Regions from separate parts of the Homo sapiens genome. Here regions 2, 3, 4, 5, 6 and 7 are each linked to region 1. The links are contacts of gene promoters, found by promoter capture Hi-C in blood cells and fetal thymus (Javierre and others, 2016). All regions are on one chromosome and are shown on one strand. Each heading gives the region's core, a stretch centred on a gene start or on the middle of the fragment in contact. The rest is flanking DNA. Distances are from core to core; before and after follow the strand shown. Region 1 holds the start of XRCC1 (X-ray repair cross complementing 1). Region 2 has its middle 23 kb from the start of LYPD3. Region 3 holds the start of KCNN4 (potassium calcium-activated channel subfamily N member 4). Region 4 overlaps SMG9 (SMG9 nonsense mediated mRNA decay factor). Region 5 has its middle 6.7 kb from the start of SMG9. Region 6 overlaps LYPD5 (LY6/PLAUR domain containing 5). Region 7 holds the start of ZNF283 (zinc finger protein 283).

The links. The method cuts DNA at HindIII sites, captures the fragments that hold promoters and counts their contacts. A CHiCAGO score of 5 or more calls a contact.
Region 2: a fragment that was not itself captured here is called in contact with the fragment with the promoter of XRCC1 in region 1 in 10 of 17 cell types (naive CD4 T cells, total CD8 T cells, naive CD8 T cells and 7 more); the score reaches 15.6 in naive CD4 T cells.
Region 3: a contact is called between the fragment with the promoter of KCNN4 here and the fragment with the promoter of XRCC1 in region 1, in 3 of 17 cell types (neutrophils, activated CD4 T cells and naive CD4 T cells). The highest score is 6.3, in neutrophils.
Region 4: a fragment that was not itself captured here is called in contact with the fragment with the promoter of XRCC1 in region 1 in 3 of 17 cell types (non-activated CD4 T cells, total B cells and naive CD4 T cells); the score reaches 5.8 in non-activated CD4 T cells.
Region 5: a contact is called between a fragment that was not itself captured here and the fragment with the promoter of XRCC1 in region 1, in 8 of 17 cell types (non-activated CD4 T cells, monocytes, total B cells and 5 more). The highest score is 8.4, in non-activated CD4 T cells.
Region 6: a contact is called between a fragment that was not itself captured here and the fragment with the promoter of XRCC1 in region 1, in 3 of 17 cell types (activated CD4 T cells, non-activated CD4 T cells and naive CD4 T cells). The highest score is 6.2, in activated CD4 T cells.
Region 7: the fragment with the promoter of ZNF283 here is called in contact with the fragment with the promoter of XRCC1 in region 1 in 14 of 17 cell types (neutrophils, activated CD4 T cells, naive CD8 T cells and 11 more); the score reaches 17.8 in neutrophils.

Annotation. Positions count from the first base shown.
Region 1 is chr19:43,574,033-43,576,881 of GRCh38, forward strand. XRCC1 (X-ray repair cross complementing 1) reads right to left here and starts at 1,495. Exons shown (of 17, transcript NM_006297.3): 1 at 1,376-1,495; 2 at 878-970. The coding sequence starts at 1,426. It overlaps PINLYP (phospholipase A2 inhibitor and LY6/PLAUR domain containing), which reads left to right and starts at 1,769. Exons shown (of 6, transcript NM_001193621.3): 1 at 1,769-2,849. RefSeq lists a silencer at 1,449-1,608 and enhancers at 1,709-1,868, 1,869-2,395, 2,396-2,849. The HindIII fragment of the contact is 21,720 bases long and covers 1,169-2,849 here.
Region 2 is chr19:43,441,087-43,443,949 of GRCh38, forward strand. No RefSeq gene overlaps it. Among named protein-coding and RNA genes, the nearest start is that of LYPD3, 23 kb to the right of the region's middle. The HindIII fragment of the contact is 6,258 bases long and covers 1-2,863 here.
Region 3 is chr19:43,779,360-43,782,405 of GRCh38, forward strand. It overlaps KCNN4 (potassium calcium-activated channel subfamily N member 4), which reads right to left and starts at 1,614. Exons shown (of 9, transcript NM_002250.3): 1 at 1,344-1,614. The coding sequence starts at 1,502. RefSeq lists enhancers at 2-501, 860-989 and a silencer at 1,596-1,865. The HindIII fragment of the contact is 12,714 bases long and covers 1-3,046 here.
Region 4 is chr19:43,739,404-43,742,434 of GRCh38, forward strand. SMG9 (SMG9 nonsense mediated mRNA decay factor) reads right to left here. Exons shown (of 14, transcript NM_019108.4): 7 at 704-815. Among named protein-coding and RNA genes, the nearest start is that of SMG9, 14 kb to the right of the region's middle. The HindIII fragment of the contact is 789 bases long and covers 931-1,719 here.
Region 5 is chr19:43,760,208-43,763,172 of GRCh38, forward strand. No RefSeq gene overlaps it. Among named protein-coding and RNA genes, the nearest start is that of SMG9, 6.7 kb to the left of the region's middle. The HindIII fragment of the contact is 1,951 bases long and covers 424-2,374 here.
Region 6 is chr19:43,795,567-43,798,429 of GRCh38, forward strand. LYPD5 (LY6/PLAUR domain containing 5) reads right to left here. Exons shown (of 5, transcript NM_001031749.3): 5 at 361-2,263. The coding sequence ends at 2,025. Among named protein-coding and RNA genes, the nearest start is that of LYPD5, 5.4 kb to the right of the region's middle. The HindIII fragment of the contact is 6,084 bases long and covers 1-2,863 here.
Region 7 is chr19:43,826,001-43,829,151 of GRCh38, forward strand. ZNF283 (zinc finger protein 283) reads left to right here and starts at 1,321. Exons shown (of 7, transcript NM_181845.2): 1 at 1,321-1,444; 2 at 2,202-2,281. RefSeq lists an enhancer at 1,179-1,378. The HindIII fragment of the contact is 6,325 bases long and covers 1-3,151 here.

The sequences.
Region 1 (2,849 bases), core at 245-2,744:
AGCGACTGACAGGTAACGTTGAATAATGCCAGCTCTCATTATTATTATTTTATTTTTTATATTTTGGGGGTCTCACTCTGGTGCCCAGGCTGGAGTGCAGTGGCACAATCTCAGCTCACTGCAGCCTCCATCTCCTGGGCTCAAGCAATTCTCTCACCTCAGACTCGCCAGTAGCTGGGATTGCAGGTGCACACCACCATACTCAGCTAATCTATAAAATTTTGGTAGAGATGACATCTTACTGTATTGCCCAGGCTGGTCTCAAACTCCTGGGCTCATGCAATACTCCAGCTTCGGCCTCCCAAAGTGATGGGATTACAGGTGTGAACCACCATACCTGGCTATTATTCTTTAAAAAAAATTATTTATTTTAATAAAAATAGAGACAGGGTCTTGATATGTTGCCCAGGCTGGTCTGGAACTCCTGAGCTCAAGCAATCCTCCCATCTCAGGCTCTGAAAGTGCTGGGTTTACAGGCATGAGCCACGGCATCCGGCCAGTTTCCCCTTCTTTAAAGTGGAGTTGATTGGCTTAGACGACCTTCCTGGACACCTTCCAGCCCTGAGCCCACTGGCTGCAGGAGGCAGAGTACGTGGCAATGATTCATTTTGTTCCAGCTGAGGAAACTGGAACCCAGAAAGTAGATGCCACCTGCCCAGGACCACACACTGATTCCTGTGGTCATCCTGGACTTAATCCTTGGGTCTCCTTTCCTCTCTGCTGAGGGGCACAGGGATTATGCTGCCCATTTTCCGAGTAAGGAAGCTGAGGCCCAGCAAAGAAAGTGACTAAACCCACTGCCAGTTGGCTCAGGAGCAGAATCTGGAACCCCGGACTCCAGACTCCTAGTGAGGAGGAGGTGGGGTGGCAGGATCACCTGTAGGACCACAGAGATGGTCTTCTCGCCTGCCTTGGCTGCCCGCCATTTTCGGTAAGTGTCTGCCTTGAGAAGATTTTCTGCACAGTGAGTCTGGAAACAACAGTGGGAGAGGAGAATTAGGGCACAGAGATGACAGCTAGGCCTCCAGCTCTCAGATGATTCCTTTGAGTCCTCCCAAGGCCTCTACGACCCCCAGATTTAAGCTCTCCCGTTAATCCCCCGACACTCTGCCTGGAGTTTCCCCTACAACACTTTCCCGTGGAAGTTCACCTATGGGCTCTCCAAGAAAGCTTCCCTATTCCTCCTTTTCTCTCCGGAAGTTCCCTAGACGCCGGAACGTCCCTAATTCAACATCTCTCCACAATTCACTTTTAGCCTCCTGGAAATCCCCCCATGACTCTCCTTAGACTTCCAAGAGAACCCCAAAAGCTCTTTTAAGAGCTATCCTCATTAATTCCCTCACGTCTTCCAACCTCCCCCATGCAGGTCCCTCACCGAGTCCTGGCTGCTGCAGGACACGACATGGCGGAGGCGGATCTCCGGCATGTCAACGTCGTGGGCTTCGCCTGGCCAGAAGGATGAGGTAGAGTATGGGGTCCGAGGGGCAGGGAGAGTGGGAGGGGGCGGGGTGCGCCCTGCGCTGGCTAAAGTGCGCAAGCGCGCGAGGCTCGGGCCTTTCAAACCCCGGCGCGCCGGCGCCGGCGTCGACACTGCGCAAGCCCAGTCGCGCCTCTCCAGAGCGGGAAGAGCGCTGCGTTCCTTAGCAACGAGCGTTTCCTCCAGCCCCGCCTCCCTCCGCCACACACAACCCCGCTCTAGCCTCGCCTCCCAATGACGTCCGAACCCTGCTTTCTGGGAGCCTAGCAACAGAAGCGACCTCCGGGATTGGTGTCTGGAAGAAATTCGCCTTTCTCATTGCACGATGGAGTTACCGCCCACACTGAAGCCGAGAAAGCAAATCTTTTTGCTGTATTATTATTTATTTTATTTTTTAAAAATTTTTTGTTGAGACAGGGTCTTGCTCTCTCACCCAGGATGGAGTGCAGTGGCACGATCTCGGCTTTCTGCAACCCCTGTCTCCTGGGGCCAAGGGATCCTCCCACTTCAGCCTCCTAAGTAGCTGGGATTACACGCACGCGCCACCACATTCGGCTAATTTTTGTATTTTTTGTGGAGACATGGGGTGAGAGGGCGGCGGGTCTTGCCATGTTGCCCAGACTGGTCTCGAACTCCTCAGCTCAAGCGATCCACCTGCCTCGGCCTCTCAAAGTGCTGGAACTACAGGCGTGAGCGACTGCGCTGGGCTAGGACAGCAAATCTGAGTGAATTTTCGTAGTTTCGTAGGGAACCTGGATTCTACGCAACAGGATCTCTTCAAATGGCTCAGGCGGCTGCACTCTTCTCTCTGTCCCCTTGCCACACACACACACACGCACATATACATACATACGCGCGCGCGCACGCGCGAAAAAAATTAGCAGATCTCTTTCAGCCTTATGCCTGAGGCCAAAAGAGAAGGGTTCTGCGTCCTAAATATAACACAAAGCATGTGCCCAACCCCCACCACACACACACACACACACCCCTATCCTGGAGTTCTTCCACAAAAGCCTCAGTTTCCCAATATGTGGACTGTGGGCATCTGTCTTTTACTACGCCCGCCTATGACTGCCGACAGACATCCCTCTGTTCATTCGGTGCCTTGGAGACCCAAGGGTGCAGCCCTGGGTGGGGTCGCAGCTGGAGACAGCCCAAACACACAAGGAGTGTGAGCCGAGCACATGAAGAGAGGGGAAGGGAGACAAGGCACCCCGCACCCGCAGGACCAGCCTGGACATGCTGGGTGCTCCAAGGTGGGGCCCTACCCACACTGGGTGCTTCCTTGGGAGGAGAGGGGAAGAGAGAGAAGGAGAGGGAATCCCAGTTCTTGCAGCCACTGGGAATCAAGAGGCCCAACTCCGTCTTGGTC
Region 2 (2,863 bases), core at 100-2,599, 130 kb before region 1:
CTAATTTTTTGTATTTTTAGTAGAGACAGGGTTTTGCCATATTGCCCAGGCTGGTCTCGAACTCCTGAACGCAAGTACTCCACCCACCTCAGCCTCCCAAAGTGCTGAGATTACAGGCGTGAGCCACCGTGTCCAGCCATTTTTTTTTTTAAGGCAGGGTCTTGCTCTATCGCCCAGGCTGGAGTATAGTGGCACAATCATGGCTCACTGCAGCCTCAACCTCCTGGGCTCAAGCTATTCTCCTGTCTTAGCCTCCCACGTAGCTGAGACTACAGGCACAGGCCACTCCTAGCTTGGAGTGTGGATTTTATTGTGATTAAATTAGTTGTCAACCTAGATAACAAACAGCGAGAGGCTCTCTAAAAGAAACAAAAATTGGTTGGGCGAGGTGGCTCACGTCTGTAATCCTAGCACTTTGGGAGGCCGAGGCGGGTGGATCACTTGAGGTCAGGAGTTCGAGACGAACCTGACCAACATGGCAAAGCCTCATCTCTACTAAAAATACAAAAATTAGCCAGGCATCATGGCAGGTGCATGTAATCCCAGCTGCTAGGGAGGCCAAGGCAGGAGAATCAGTTGAACCCGGGGGGTGGAGGTTGCAGTGAGCCAAGTTCATGCCACTGCACTCCAGCATGGGCGAAAGAGTGAAACTACATCTCAAAAAAAAAAAAAAAGTTTATTCAAGAACAGAGAATTGCAATGGGAATAGGAGTGTTATACATATTCAAGGAGGTCAAAGAAGACAAAGGTTTTTAAAGAAAAAAAATGAGGAGAATTACATAATGGTTTTGAAATAATCATCTTTGGCTAGAAAAATGAATCACAAAGATGATGCCAGTCTGGGGTTGGACAGGCAGTTGCTGGGCAAACGTCCTTGCAGAAGTATTTTTCTGTGTAAGTTTGCAATGGTCTTTGTGTGAGATTGTGTTTTTTGCAGTTTTTTTGTGATAGTTTTTGTGATCAGTCATACAAGTATGAGAACCCTCTCTCCATGGCTTTCCTTCACTCTGTTGGTCGGAGCTTTTTTTTCTTTTTCTTTTTTTTAACATGAGTGACTCCATTTTGATTCTGATAACCTTCAAAAGTTCATATGTGCCTGGGTCATGGGGACTGCTTAGTAAATGCTAGCTTTCACTTTACTATTGGAATTTTTACCTCCAAAATGCAGCATCTCCCCATTCCAAGGTCCTAAGTAGAATGGAAGAGGAGATGCCAGGGAATCTTGACAAGGGAAACTTTCACGGTTGACTCTACATTTGAATTTCTATAGCAGGATTAAGTCTGTGTATTATTTACGTGATTTAAAAAGGCCGAGTGTGGTGGCTCACGCCTGTAATTCCAGGACTTTGGGAGGCTGAGGCAGGTGGATCACCTGAGGTCAGGAATTTGAGACCAGCCTGGTCAACATATAATGAAACCCCATCTCTACTACGAATATAAAAATTAGCCAGGCATGGTGGCATACACCTGTAATCCCAGCTACTCAGGAGGCTGAGGCAAGAGAATTGTTTGAACCTGGGAGGCAGAGGTTGCAGTGAGCCAAGATGGCACCACTGCACTCCAGCCTGGTGACAGAGCGAGACTCTGTCTCAAAAAAAAAAAAAAAAAATCTAAAAATTAGCTAGGCATGGTGGTGCACACTTGTGGTCCCAGCTACTTGGAAAACTAAGGCAGAAGGATCGCCTAAGCCTAGGAGGTCAAGGCTGCCATGAGCTGCGATCACACCACTGCACCCCAGGCTGGGTGACAGAGCAAGACCCCCTCTCACAAAAAAATTTTTAAAAAGATAATGTTAAATATATGTTAGTAGATAAATGTTCACAAAAATCATTAGTGTTGAAGGAAGTGAGGAAAAGATTAAAGGGTGTATTAGTCCATTCTCACACTGCTATAAAGATACTACCTGCTATAAAGATACTGGCCAGACAAGGTGGCTCATGCCTGTAATCCCTACTCTTTGGGAGGCTGAGGTGGGTAGATCACCCGATGTCAGGAGTTCAAGACCAGCCTGGCTAACATGATGAAAACCCGTCTCTACTAAAAATACAAAAAAAAAAAAAAAGTCAGGCATGGTGGCAGGCACCTGTAATCAGCTACTCAGGAGGCTGAGGCAGGAGAATCACTTGAATCCAGGAGACAGAGGTTGTGAGCCGAGATCGCACTACTGCACTCCAGCCTGGGCAACAAGAGGGAAACTCTGTCTCAAAAAAAAAGATACTACCTGAGACTGGGTAATTTATAAACAAAAGAGGTTTAATTGACCTGCAGTTCCACATTGCTGAGGAAGCCTCAGGAAACTTACACTCATGGCGGAAGGGGAAGGGGAAGCAAGCACCTTCTTCACAAGGTGGCAGGAGAGACAGTGCAGGGGAAACGGCCACTTATAAACCATCAGATCTCATGAGAACTGCATGGGGGAACCACCCCCAAGATCGAATCACCTCCCACCAGGTCCCTCCCTCCACATGTGGGGATTACAATTTGAGATGAGGTTTTGGGGGGACACAGAGCCAAACCATATCACCAGGGTTAAGATTTATAAATTGCTCTGTGAACCCCGAAAATCTGAGACAGGTCTCAGTTAATTCAGAAAGTTAATTAGGAGACCAAGGTTGAGAATGCACGCACATGACACAGCCTCAGGAGGTCCTGATGACACGTGCCCAAGGTGGTAGGGGCACAGCTTGGTTTTATACCTTTTAGGAAGACATGAGACATCAATCAGTAGGTGTAAGATGTACATTGGTTCAGTCCAGAAAGGTGGGACAACTCAAGGTGAAGGCAGGAAACTGGAAGAAAGGAGGGGGCTTCCAGATCATAGGTAGATAAGAGAGAAGTGGTTGCATTCATTTTTTTGAAATGG
Region 3 (3,046 bases), core at 364-2,863, 210 kb after region 1:
CCCCTCAGTGCCCGCCGCCTGCCAGAGGAAGCTGCATGCCTGACCCTCCATGTGGCTCCTGGTCACTTCAGAGCTGCCCACCACCCCCTCCAGATCCAAGTCGGAACATCAGACCCTCAGGAATCTACCCAATCTTCATATCAGTGTCCGCATCTGGCCCTACCAGCCCAGTTCCACAACCCTTCTGCCAGAGAGGTCTCCAGCCCCTCCTTTCCTGTTGAGCAAGTCTGTTCTCCCCTCAAGCCACTTATTCCAACCCTTGTCCTTGATCTGCCCCATCACTGGCCTGACCAGGGCTGGAATGTGACGGGAGCCTGCTGAGACCTGCCCTGACCCCACTTTCCCCTTTCTTCCCTACTCACCACTCATCTTCGGAGTCAGCCCCTCTTCCCCAAAAGCAATCAAAACCCCCTTCTCCTTAAGACTCAGGAATCCAGGACCCAGCCCCCTCCTCTCCTGGTACCTAGGAGTCCAGGCCACTGTAAGCCTACCTCTCCACTATTTCCCTGACTAATCAGCATGCAGATTTGGGGAGAAATTGAGCTTGTTAACAGTGGAGACTGGGTTGGGGTTGGTGGGGGGAGGCAGGTCGGGGGAGAGGTTTGTTTCCCATTTCCCATCCCCACCCCCAAGGCAGTTTTTTCTGTCCTTTGCATCTAAGGCACTGGGTAAACATTAGAGGTTAGACAAGGACCAAAGAGCTGCCGCCTACTGGAAGAACTTTGTCTTTCCTCCACTCTCCCTTCACCAAACCTGGGGCTACCTCTCCCCTTATTGGCTCTTGGGGGGCTTGAGTGTCTGATCAGCCACCCTCTGGCCTCCAGGGGTCCTGGACCTCTGGCCGTCTAATGGCAACATCTTCAAAGACTGAAACACTGAAACAAATATTCCCTTCCTTTTGCAGAGAAGGACCCCAGCAACTGTCTCCTGGGAGCACCCAGGAGTCCCAGCCAAAGCCCCTCCTCCCTCAGACCCAAGAGTCTAGGCCCCCAACCTCTCCTCCCTCAGATCCAGGAGTCCTGACCCCCAGCCCCTCCTCCCTCAGACCCAGGAGTCCAGACCCCAGCCCCTCCTCCCTCAGACCCAGGAGTCCTGACCCCCAGCCCCTCCTCCCTCAGACCCAGGAGTCCAGGCCCTCAGTCCCTCCTCCCTCAGACCCAGGAGTCCAAGTCCCCAGTCCCTCCTCCCTCAGACCCAGGAGTCCTGACCCTCAGCCCCTCCTCCCTCAGACCCAGGAGTCCTGACCCCCAGCCCCCCCTCCCTCAGACCCAAGAGTCCTGACCCCCAGCCCCTCCTCCCTCAGACCTAGGAGTCCCAGCTCCCAGCCACCATGCCCCACTCACCGAGCACCCCCCGAACCACAGCATCTCTGCATGCAGCACCATGAGTCCAATGCCAGTTCCTGCCAGCACCAGTGCCCAGCCGGCCAGAGACTTCTCCTGCTCCAGCAAGCGCTTTCGGCGTCTCAAGGCCCCCAGGCCAAGCACCAGATCCCCGCCCATGGCCCCCGGGGTCTTGGGGCTCAGCCAGCTTCCTGCCCAGGGTCCCCCACCTCGCAGCACGCACAGGGCAGCCACTGTGGCTTGCAGGTCGTCAGCCTGCTCTGCTGGCTCTGGGACTTTTGCTCTGAGGCACAGCAGAGCCCTGTGCCCTCTGGGGAGTGGTGACGGCCAGGCAGGGCGGGGAGGGGCAGGGGAGGCCCCAGGGTAGGGGGAGGCTCCCCAGCTCCCCCTTTTGAGAATAAGGAGGGGCTAGGGTGTGTCTTGGGGCAGAGCAAGAAAGAGACGTCCATCCACGTGGATAAAGACACACACAGACACACGATGGGCTTTGTCACACACAATGGTCTGTACTTTGTGACACACACCTCTACTCACCACACCCAGACACCGAAGGACACTCCACAGCCCAAGACGGAGACTAACACACCAGGGCACACAACACAACCTACACAGAGTGACTCACAACTCCCAGCAAGCTCTGAAACCCACAGCCACACCCAGACACCACACACATGGTGTGACACACACCAGCACTTAGCAAGCAGGCAGTATCCCGTGGCACACACAGCCACCCAAACACCGTCCACACACAGGCACAAATATTACACTCAAAGTTGTCACAACTTTCTCTGACACAAAGAGCCACACCCAAACACCACAAATAGGACGATGCACAACTGTGGCCACACAAACACAACATACACCAGGTGTTACACAAACACACAATATATATTAAAGTAGTGACGCCCTGATGCCACACACCACACACCGACACAAACACTGTGCAGTCCCAGTTTCCTAAACACTACACACCCTTGGAACGAAACCCAATACGTGTAGACACACAACATTTAGGGACATACCTATAGTAGCCCCCAATCACCCAGAGCTAGAGAATTGCACATACATTGTGGCGCCTGTTGACTCGAACACAAGTGCTCGCAGTGATGATTCAAAACACGCACTGATTCAGCATGCTCTGATGTGTGGTGCGATTCAAATGTATGGTCAGAGGACAAGCTGAGTGGATGCATGCAGAGACCTACAAGGTACAGCGACACACGGAGAAACCCAAGAAGCACATGCCTGAAGCAAGATGATTCTGGTATATTCTGGCCACACAGGACAACATCCAGGATGATGCCCTGGGGGAAGGGGATGGGGTTGGACCTTCATAGACCCCAGTGCCCAAATGCAACATACGGCTGGGTGCAGTGGCTCATGCCTGTAATCCCAGCAGTTTGGGAGGTTGAGGTGGGAGGATTGCTGGAGCCCAGGGGTTTGAGACCAGCCTGGGCAACATAGCAAGATCCTATCTCTAAAACAAGCAAAAACAAAAAAACAAACGCAACATACACCATCACCTCTGAGCCATGAGCCACACCCAAACATGACATACAATACCTCCACACAACCCAACACGTTATATTCCAACATGCGTGGCCACACAACAACATACGCGGAGTAATACACCAGCACACAGTAACGCAAAACACATAAACACAATGTTTTCCAACACACCCAACCTTCCACAAACGACCACA
Region 4 (3,031 bases), core at 75-2,574, 170 kb after region 1:
TTGACAAGGTCACACAATTCGTTGGTGGTTTCAGGTAAAAACGGGATATGCGAAGTCCAGAGAAGAGAGAGATCAGTGTGTGTGTGCTGGGGGTCTGGTGGCTCCTCCAGAGGCGAGGATAGGCAGTCTGAGGGAGGCAAGCCACACCCTCCGAATGCCAGCTTAAGGAATCTGGACTTTGCCTGAGAGGAAGGGAGAAGCCGAGGAAAACTGCCAGGTAAACGCAGGACCAGTCAGTGCTAACGACAGTGACGAGCCTGAGCACTAACCTTGTGCCAGGTCCTGGCCAAGCACTTTGCCTGGATTGTTCCACTGAATCCTTGAAACTCCTAAGAGGCTAAGTACAGTTACCATCCCTATTTACAGATAAAGAGCTGTGGTTTAAGGGAGTTTAAAACTGAAAGTCACCCAGCTGGTAAGAACTAACAGACAGGATCAGAACACACATTCTCCAGGGCCCACACTTTTCAGCACTATACTAGAAATCCTTTAGGCTACTGTGTAGAAGGCGAATGAGATGGGGGCAAAAGTGACAAGAGACTAAGGGCCAAGAAAAGACACAATTTGCCCCAGGGCAGCCAGTATGTCCATGGCTTGACTGGAAGCACATGGAATCCACGCAGGGTTCTGGCTTAATCACATTCCAGGAAGAGGCTCAATGCAGGATGTGGCAGGGTGGGGCAAAGGCAGGCGGGGCTGGCACCTGTGTGTCCAGGAAAACAATCCGTTCTTGGGTAATAAAGAAGTCGATGCCACTGGTCTGGTTGCCCCCTCGTTCCTTCATTTCAGCGCTCTGGGCCCGGAAAACATAAGTCCTGTGGAGAGGAGCAGGCAGGGGTGTGTGAGAGCTCTGGTTCTCAGCCTTGGATGCATCCGAAGTGTGACCCTGTGAGCTGAGCATGTGAGCCGTGGTGCCCTGCCTGCTCCCTAAGCTTTTCATCTGTGGCCCATGTCAGGGGGTGGGAGGCGGGGGTAGTGCATGTTTTGAAGCACACAATTTCACTCCTATCCATAAAGAGATCCATTAGTTCAATTAATGAAGCCAGTACACTGAGGTGTTGAAGGGCAGAGACTCCGCCAGTCTGCCAGGATTCAGATCCCAGCTCTGCCTCTTCCTGGCTGTGTGGCTTTAGGCACACTCCTTAACCTTTTTCCATCAGTTTCCTCATCTATAAAACGGGGATAACCACATGATCAAAACTCTGTGTATTACTGTGAGGTCGGTATGTGTAAAGCCCTTAGAATGGTGCCTGATATATAATGATATATACTTTTAGCTGTTAATTATCAAATAAACCTACTAGATCCCAGGCATTGGAGAGAGAGCACTGAGTGCCCTCCACTCCCACAGTGAGAGAGAGTTTGGGTCTTGTTCCCAGCATCTTCCCCTGTCAGGTGAGTCTCCCTCACTTCTACGTGTGCTGGGTGCTGGGAATATGAGGGCAAAGCAGGCAGAGCAGGGCCGTGCCCTAAACCACTAAGTTCAACTTGGTGACTCTGTGACTTGGGCAAAGTGATTTTACCTTTTGAAATCTGTAAAATCAGGGTAATAGTACCTACCTCTCAAGGGGTAATTTCTATCTCCCCTCAAGATGCATAATCTGTTGTCTGACACAAAGCAGGCATCCTTCCACTTTACAAACACTATACGGAAAACCTCCTATTTGCCAGATACCAGGATATAGCAGTGAACAAAAAAGACTAAGTCGGCTTCTGTGAAGCTTCTGGTCTAGTTTACAAATTACCAGAAATCAGTAACTGTGGGTGTTAGAAAGAAGAGGCGTGCAGTGCTCCAAGTGCAGATTGCTTAGTTGGTGGAGCCAGAAAGGGCTGCCCTGGAGAGGGAAATGACAATGCTGAGGGTGAGAGAGAAAGAGGGAGTTAATTGGCACTGGGTGGGGGATGGACGCAGAGGAAGGTTGCATCGGCAGAAAGTAGGTGGCTTGTTGTACTAGGACTCAAAGACCAGCATGGCAAGAGCAGAAAGATGGTGCATGTGGGAGGGGAGGGAGCAAGAAGAGGATACACAGACCCTTGTGGAGCATGGTAAGGCTTTGGCCTATGAGCCTGGAGAAGCTGCTGGAGAGATGTAAGTAGAGGAGTGACAGGATCAGACTGTGGTTTGAAAGGTCCCCTTGCTGCTATGTGGTGAGGACCGTACGGTGGAAAAAGTGGAGATAGGCTTACAAGGCCCAGTGCCAGAGTGCCTCGCTCTGCCTCTCTGGCCTTATCTCCTACCACTCCCCTTCTAAGGCTGCCACGTTCTTCTACACACACTATGGGCAAGCTCCCACTTCAGACGCATTGCCCATGCCAGTCCCTTTCACTGGAATGCTCCTCCCAGCATGCTTTTTCTCAAACGTTCCCCTTAGCAAGGCCTTCCCTCACCATCCTATTTAAAACTATAACCTAGTCTGGGCAACACAGCAAGACCTCATCTCTACAAAAAATAAAAAAAAATATTAAGGGCATGGTCGCTCATGCCTGTAATCCCAGAGCTTTGGGAGGCCAAGGTGGGAGGATCACTTGAGGTCAGGAGTTCAAGACCAGCTTGGCCAACATGGTGAAACCCTGTCTCTATTAAAAATACAAAAATTAGCCGGATGTGGTGGTGCACGCCTGTAATCCCAGCTACTCGGGAGGCTGAGGCAGGAGAATTGCCTAAACCTAGGAGATAGAGGTTGCAGTAAGCCAAGATGGAGCCACTGCACTCCACCCTGGGTGACAAAGCGACAATTGTCTCAAAAATAAAAAATAAATAAATTAGCCAGGCATGGTGGTACACAAATGTAGTCCTAGCTACTCAGAAGGCTGGGGTCAAAGGATCACGTGAGCCCAGTCTGGGCAACACAGTGAGATCCTGTCTCTACAAAAAATTAAAAAATTAGTTGGGCATGGTGGTGCATACCTGTGGTTCCCAGCTACTCATATGGCCAAGGTGGGAGGATGGCTTGGGCCCAGGTCAAGGCTGCAGTGAAGCCATGATCAGGCCACTACACTCCAGCCTGGGTGACAGAGCAAGACCCTCGTC
Region 5 (2,965 bases), core at 149-2,648, 190 kb after region 1:
AAAAAAAAAAAGTTCGAGAGGTTTTGGTCCTGGCCAACTGCCTGAAGACTGAGACTTTTTTTTTTTTTTTTTTTTTTTTTTTTTTGAGATGGAGTCTTGCTCTGTCGCCCAGGCTGGAGTACAGTGGCGTGATCTCGGCTCACTGCAAGCTCCGCTTCCTGGGTTCATGCCATTCTCCTGCCTCAGCCTCCCGAGTAGCTGGGACTACAGGTGCCCACCACCACGCCCGGCTAATTTTTTTGTATTTTTAGTAGAGTCGGGGTTTCACCATGTTAGCCAGGATGGTCTCGATCTCCTGACCTCGTGATCCACCCGCCTCAGCCTCCCAAAGTGCTGAGATTACAGGCGTGAGCCACCACGCCCGGCCTAAGACTGAGGCTTTTTACCGGGATGAGGAAAAGTACTTTTGATGGGAAATCAACAAGCTTTGAAATTCTTAACTTTGAGATGCACGTTGGTCATCAAATAAGTGGTTGGAGTTAGGGGAAAAAGCCGGGGTTTGTAGATAAAGACTTTCTGACTTTGCGTCACAGAATTTAGTTTAATTAATTAATTTATTTTGAGACAAAGTCTTGCACTGTCACCCAGGCTGGAATGCAATGGCACGATCTTGGCTCCCTGCAACCTCCACCTCCCGAGCTCAAGCAATCCTCCTGCCTCAGCCTCCCAAGTAGCTGGGACCACATATGCTCTAGCACACCCGGCTAATTTTTTAGAGATGAGGGTTCACTATGCTGCCTAGGCTGGTCTCGAACCCCTGGGTTCAAGCAATCCACCCCATCAGCCTCCCAAAGGCTGGGATTACAGTCACTACAGAGTTTTAAAAATACACACAAAGATGTTATGGTATGAAGAGACTCCCACGTACCCATCGCCCAATATTGACAGACATCTGCATTTTTCTTGTCTTATGTCTTCTATTTTTCCCTCCCACATATAAGCATACTTCCCGCCACCCCCTGGAGTTTTGTTTGTTTTAAGAAAATCACAGATAACCTGTCATTTTGTTAATAACTATACAAGTATGCTAAATTTTGGAGCTGCCTATTTATAGATGATATTTAAAGCTATGATTTGCTGAGATCATCTAGGCTGAGAGGTTGAAGAGAGCAGGGACTAGGCCTGAGCATCCCGCATGTAGAAGCCAGGATCCTGGAGAGGGGCTGAGATGGAGCCAGGAGTGTCAGGAGAGGGGATGACCTGGCGCCATGGGATCAAAGGGTTCCAAAGAGAAGATAATGGACTAAGGAGCAGAGACACGGGGCAGCAGCTGGAGGCAGATGTGGGGTCCACCATGGAAAAGACATGACTTTTGATCCCCCATCTAACTGTGTTATGGAACCTTCTCAGTATCTATCAGGAAAAATGTATAAGTACTTATTTTTCTTTATTTTTATTTATTTTCTTTTTGGGTGACATATAACTTAAGTGTGGTAAAGTATATAAAGGGCACAGATCTTAAGTGTACCAGGTAATGAATTTTCACAAATTTATGCATCCATGTAACCGCTAATCAGAGAACATTTCCAGCACCCAGACGTCTTCCTTGTGCTCTTTCCCTGTCAATTCCCCTGCTCCAGAAGCAACCACCCATCTAATGCCTTTCAAAAACAGGCACAGAGATTCGTTGTGTCTGTTTTTGAACTTCATGCGAATGAAATCTTACAGCATGTCTTCCGTGTGTCTGGCATCTTTAGCTCTTTATGTCTGGCAAAGTCTTTTATGTCATTCTATGTAGCAGGAGTTTAGAACCAACTTTATGGCCGGGCTTGGTGGCTCACATCTGTAATCCCAGCACTTTGGGAGGCGGAGGCAGAGGCAGGCAGAACACGTGAGGCTAGGAGTTCGAGACCAGCCTGGCCAACATAATGAAACCCCATCTCTACTAAAAATACAAAAAATTAGCTGGGCGTGGTGGAGGTGCATACCTGTAATCCCAGCTACACTCGGGAGGCCGAGGCACGAGAATTGCTTGAAGCTGAGAGGCAGAGGTTGCAGTGAGCCGAGATCACGCCACTGCACTCCAGCCTAGGTGACAGAGCGACAGATATTTTGCAGTTTGGTGAATAGTGAACTTTAAGGAAAATGGAGAATCTAAAATGCTTCTGAAAGTTCCAGTGGGATGTTTATAAGATGGGAGAAATTATAGCATGTTTGTGTGCAGATGGGAATGATAGAGGGAAAAGAGACCAGGAGACTTTGGAGCTGTTTTTTGAGGAGGTGTGGACAGGGTGAGGGGGCTAGACTTGACTTGAAGAAGGGCCAGCTCATCCTGGAAAAAGAAAGGAAAGTTTTATCATTTGACACCCCCTCCAAATTATAAAAAGCACTCTCCTGGTTTGTATATGTTAGCAGCTATTCCACACAACATAAAAGCTTAAAGCATGCCTTTGGACTGCCAGTCTGGTGTTGATGATGATGATACAGCTTCCTTTATGGACCATAATAAATAGCTGGGCTGGGCATGGTGGCTCCTGCCTGTAATCCCAGCACTTTGGGAGGCCAAGGTGGGAGGATCTCTTGAGCCCAGGAGTTTGAGACCAGCCTGGGCAACATAGTGAGACCCCCGTCTCTACAACAAAGAACTGAATAAATGTTAGTGATGTTTATTTTTATTCTGAGTGGATGGGGCAAGAAGGAGGGGAGAGCAGCAGGCAGTTTGGGAAGGAAGAGGAGCCTAGTGGCCTGAGCAGCCAGGACAGGGAGGAGAAGGGGAGGCCAGAAGACGGGGAGAGACTGAGCTTGCAGAGTCCCCCGGGTGAGGCTTGTGGGCATACTGACACAATGGAATACTACTGTGTAATGAAAAGGATGAGCAGCATGGCTGAATCTCACCACCACCCTGCAGAGCCCAAGACACAGATACACACCAGGGCGTGCAGCAGGGTTCCTTCCAAAGTTCAAAGTTGAACAAAAGGAATCAAGACAGGTCAGGATGGTGGTTCCTGGGATGAAGGGGGCTGTT
Region 6 (2,863 bases), core at 304-2,803, 220 kb after region 1:
TTGCCACTTTAGTTCCCTGCTGCATGCCCAGCAACTGGAACAGTGCCTTGCACATAGTAGGTGCTCAGTAAATGTGAAGGATGAATGAAGACATCCAGCTTCCCCTTGTATGTCAGGATGTAAAGACACCTGAAGCCCTTGTCACATGGCCTTACAGGAGCATAGGAGCGGAGTGTTTCTGAATTGCCCCCCTTCCCACAAGTCTACTTGCTGACATGGAGCGAGAAGACACGGGAGTCTACTCTTGCTATGCACTTACTCTGAAAATTGCTCTCTCACTGTGCTTTGGGCATCTTGTCTGTAAAACAGGAAGGTGTCTTAGTCCCTTCAGGCTGCTGTAACAAAATACCATAGACTGTATGGCTTATACACAACAGAAATTTATGTCTCATAGCTCTGGAGTCTGGGAAGTCTGCAATCAATGCACCAGCAGATTCGATGGCTGGTGAGAACCCACTTTCTTGCTTATAGGCACCTGCTGGCTGTGTTCTCATGTGGTGGAAGGGGCAAGGCAGCTCTCCAGGGCCTCTTTTATAAGGGCACTAATCCTATTCATGGGGGCTCCACCCTCATGATCTCACCACCTCCCAAAGGCCCCACCTCCCAGTAATATCACTTTGGTAATTAGGTTTCAAAAGATGAATTTTGGGGAGACACAAACATTCAGACAATAGCAGGATGCAACTTACTTTTTTGCTTCTCTCACTGAGTTGCTGGAAAGATCAAGTGGCAAAAAGCATGTGAAAGAACATGGTCAAGCATGTGCACAGAGAACATGCTAAAGGATCCCATCTCTATGAAGTTCATGCAGTTATGAAAGTGTCCTGCACTCATGAAAGTGTCCTGCACTCCTTGTGCTCCTTCCTCCCTCAGACCTTTGTCCAGGCTGTCTCCTCTACCTAGAATGCGCTTCCTCCTGCTTCTTTTTGCCAGCTACTATTGATCCTTTAGGATTTTGCTCAAGGGTGAATTCCTCCAGGAAGTCTTCCCTGATCTTTATAGCTTGGAGAATTTCACCTCGCTGAACTTTGCCTTGTGTGTTTTTCTGTGAAGTTAATCGGCACTCATGTGTTTAGGAGGTGGGGTTGCTTAGCAGTTCGTGGGGCTGGGAATCTGGTCCCTGAATCCATACTCACTAGATACACAAGCTCAACCAAGTGCTTTTGCCTCTCAGTTTGTTGACCTGTGACTTAGGGCTTATGACAAGTAGCCCATTTACACTGGGCCACTGCTGTGTCCCAAGTACTAAATGTTCATCTCGTTGAATCCTCACTGCAACTACTGTGAAGTAGTTCTTGTCATGTTATAGAGTTTATTTTCACCTCCACCTTATAGGTGAGAAAATATTGGCACAGAGAGCTCAAGTAACTCACCCACAGTCTCTGCAGGCTGAATGGTGGAGCTGGGATTTGAACCCATGCAGCTTAGCTCCAGAGCCTGGCTTAAGTAACTCACCCATGGTCTCTGTAGGCTGAATGCTGGAGCTGGGATTTGAACCCATGCAGCTTAGCTCCAGAGCCTGGCTTAAGTAACTCGCTCATGGTCTCTGCAGGCTGAATGGTGGAGCTGGGATTTGAACCCATGCAGCTTAGCTCCAGAGCCTGGCCTACTAACTGTTAGGGCATACTGCTTATTGGGCTTCTCATGATGACACTAATAAAGACATCATTGTATAGCTCCCTCCTAGAGCTGCGACAGGCTCTGGAGGGAGAGCACAGGAAGCCGTGTTATGGGGTGCCTGGTGCCTGGCTGGTGCTCAGTGAGTAACAGCTGTGATCAGAATTGCTCTTCATCGGGGCACGACATGGCTGTTTTGCCCTCCCCGGGGATGCTGGTGACTGTGTCCAGTTTCTTCCAGTACTGTTGGCCAGGTTGTGGGGCACAAGGGCGGGAGAGATGGAAGGCCAGAGGGACAGGAGTGCAATTCTTACTTTAACATCATTTTCCAGTGAGCTATGTGATAGGGGCTGAAGCAGCAAGAATGAGGTGTGTGAGCCCTGTCCCCAGCATCCTGGAGGGGCGGTCTATGCTGAGAGCCCCACCAGCAGGAGGACTGGGAGGAGCAGGGCCAGGACCTGTAGTGCTCGGGGAGGGGTGGTGGCTGAAGCACTGGTGAAGGGCTGGGTCATGGATTTCCTGTTGCAGAGGTACCCCTCACAGCAGGAGCCCTGGAGGTCGATGGCTGTCCAGGGGCTGGTGGTGCCCTCGGTGGTGCAGGAGGGCCGGTGGCAGGTTCTGATGTACACAGGGACTGAGAAATTGCCTGGAGGTGGGCAAAGCAGTGAGGAACGGTCAGAACTGAGGGAGACAGCTGCACCTGAACCTTCACCTTGGTAGCTAGGGCCATGCCTCGGTCCTCAGACTTGCTTCAGGTTTTCCTCCTAAGACCAGGGCCAGGCCTCCCTCAGACCAGGGCCATGCCTCTTCCCTCAGAACAGGGTCGTGCCTCCTCCCTCAGACCAGGGCCATGCCTCTTCCCTCAGACCAGGGGCCATGCCTCCTCCCCCAGACCAGGGTTATGCCTCCTCCCTCAGACCAGGGCATGGCCTCCTTCCTCAGAGCAGGGCCAGGCTTCTCCCTCAGACCAGGGTCTTGCCTCCTCCCTCAGACCAGGGTCATGCCTCCTCCCTCAGACCAGGGTCATGCCTCCTCCCTCAGACCAGGGTCATGCCTCCTCCCTCAGACCAGGGCCAAATCTTCTCCCTCAGACCAGGGCCAAATCTTCTCCCTCAGACCAGGGTCAAACCTTCTCCCTCAGACCAGGGTCATGCCTCCCACCTCAGAGCAGGGCCATGTCTCCCTGTTGGGCCTGTCTGGTATCACTACCCTCATGGCTGCCCTGCCTCCATATCCCTTGCCCAGG
Region 7 (3,151 bases), core at 71-2,570, 250 kb after region 1:
AGAGGAGGCTGCTTCCACCAGTGGTTTTGGAGGTGGAGCAGATGCTGATGATAATGAAGTCCCAGATGGGAAACGGGGATGGGTGCCGAGGAAAGCTCAAGGACCCTGCAGATGAGGACTCAGACCCACGATACTGGATGAGGCATCCATGTCACCATGGGAGTCAACCAGGGTAGTGGCCTCAGCTGAGGCAGGGGAAAAGCTGGGATCCAAGAGCTCTAGTCTTCTCTTGATAAGCAAGAGAGACCAGGAGGTGAGAGATGGCAGAGGATGAGAGAGGTGATATCAGTGACCAGAAAGAGCCCCTAAAAAGTAACTTCCTTTTCTTTCTGTTAGTTTTAATATAAAATTTCGCTTTAATATTTTTAGACAATTCTTTTTTAAAAAAGTATTTATATCCAAAGGTTCTTACCACACCAACCACAGCCCCAATCTTTTTGCCCTAACCTCAGAATCAGTTAGTTGTCTCCTTTAAAACCTTTCTCTCTCTCACACACCCACACACACACACACGCAAACACACAGGAGAGAGAGAGAGGGAATATATAGTATTGTTTTTGGAGTATGAGTGTGTGCTTCAGAATAAATGGTTTCATACTCTATAAAAAATGAGATTCAAATTTTATAATCCATCAAGTTTTATTGGAACACAGCCATGCTGGATTGCTTGTGCATTGTTTATGGCCGCCTTTGCACTGCCATAAGTCTCCACGGTCACAATATCCACTCACTACCACTTATTGTTGTCTTTCAACAGCGGCATATAAAATCTGTAACACAGTTCATCTCACACCTAATAAAACAGACTCACACAGGCATAAATTTAGAAAACATCCCATGAACATAAACAGGTCCACGCAGGGTCCCAGACACCGAATCGAACTAAGAAACTCCCTCACAGCAAGACACACCCATCTGTTCAATTGCCAGACACTGTTCCAGGCGCTCATACCCAGGTAAACTGGTAGTGTCGCGCAGGTCATTTCCAGCGAACTTACCCCGGATTCCCTTGCTCGCTCACGTCTAAGTCCCCAGACACCCCAGTCCCATCTTCGCCTGTTCTAGACTCCAGAATGCGTTCCTTAGCGAAAGCTGAGAACCTTTTAATTCGCTCTCAGTCAACACCAAAGACCCTCAAGCAAAAGCAAGAGCTCCCGGGCGTCTTCGAAAAAAGCGCCTTTGACAGGTGAAGCCAAGTTGCATGCTGGGAGCATCCCTGCTGTCCAGGTTTCAACTTCCGGAGACTCTGCCGCTGTGGACTACATTTCCCAGAAGTCTCCGGGGCACAGGCCTTTTAGGGGCGGGGCGAGCTTGCCTGCCAGAAGCTCCTCTCCCAGCCTGCGAGCATTTCCAGGCTCTTGTTTCCCATCAGCCTCTGGGTCCAAACTAACCACAGGTCTCTGGGTCCTTTTCCGGTGTCCTTAAGGTTCTTGGACTCTGCATGGTGAGTTGGTCGTGTCTGTAGAAGTAATCAGCCCGGGTGAAGCTGGGAGGGCTCGGCTGGCTTTACTGGGGCCCGACTGGAACCGGCAGTGAGGGTGGGGGTGGCATCGGGGGTGCTGGAGGTGGGGAGGGCTGGGTCACGGACAGAGCGTGTCGTGTCCGGATCCTCAAGCCTGTGTGCACGCGAGCAGCCGAGGGACAGTGTGTCTCAGACGGCGTGGCAGGGACGGGGCGTGTCCCCACGGAGGTGGGTGCAGTTGTGAATGTGTGACGGGCTGACAGGGTGCGTGGCCGTATTTGTAAATGTGATTTGCTTTGACCAAATGCTCTAGGTTCCCTTTAGCCTGTCTTCGGGCCTGCCACAATTAAATGACCGCAAGAAAGAAGTCTATGCTAAGCCCCATAATGAACGTTTCAAGCAAGAAGGATGAGAATTTTAGATCTGGAAGTGTCCGCGGGACAGGATCTTGTCAAGACCTGATGGGGAAGTTCTAGAGGTGGGATTCCTAGAAGAGGGGCCTCTAGGAGCTCTTTGGTGGTGAGCTACATGTTTCAGAGCCATTGCAAGCAGACCTCTGTCCCCAAGAATTGCCCTCAACACAGAGACAGACTCTAGCCTCCCTTTTCATTCCGTTTGGTTTTGTGTGGATGAAGGCAGAAGTGGCCCCAGAGGGTGTTTTGCTCTTCTTTTTCTTTTTTAATTAAGTCTGTGACGCGCTAGAAATGCTGATGTCTCATGTTACTGTTTTTTCCCCCAGTGCTGCCAGGTTGCCAGATTTCTAAGAAGGAGTTTGAAGAGGAGAAAAGGATTTTTGCATGTTTAGAAATCAAGGTTCAGGTGAGGTTTTTTATACATACTTTTTAAATACATACACATACAATTACCTTTGCTTCTAGGTCATGAGAACATTTTCTTTCCTTGGCCTGAAATATCTTGACTGGGTTTTCCCAGTTACATGACCCGCCATGCTGGTACATATTTCCTCCCAGTGGCCCCCTATTGTTCTTCTCCACAATTCTTACCCACCTGTTCATATGGCAAATTGTTCAAATACTTCAGTGCATTATGATGCACTGAAGAGTTATAGAAAGGCACCTCTTGTAGATTGCTATTAGAGCATTATTTTATACTATGATTATTTGAAGAGATTAGTAATTAGGTGGTGTTATATAAACATTATTTTTTATCTTTTCTGTAGTCATAATTAAAATTTTTTTTTAACTTTTTTTAGAGACAAGGTCTCACTCTGTTGCCCAGGCTGAGTGCAGTAGTATAGTCATAGCTCAGTGCAACCTTGAAGTCCTGGGCTCAGGTGTTCCTCTGGCCTTGGCGTCCCAAAGTGCTGGGACTGCAGGTGTGAGCCACCATGCCTGGCCCATAGTCATGATGCTTAAAGAAAGGCAAGGTATAAGGGATTTTAAGTAAGGGAATGTTTCTGGCAGTAAATGACAATGTTGTCTGCTTTGTGAGGCTTTTAGGGGTGGAAATATGATTGAGCTTTGAACATAGGGATTTGTAATTTGCACCAACAAGAGTGGGGACTTTCAGATAATCTTTAGATAGAAATCTGTAACATTTCCAAGCATGACTTGTTTGAAGTCCAGCTTTCTGTGGCATGTAAGAAGCCGTACTATGTTGTAGTTAAAAATAAGGCCCTGGGGTCGGGCACAGTGGCTCACGCCTGTAATCCCAGCACTTTGGGAGGCT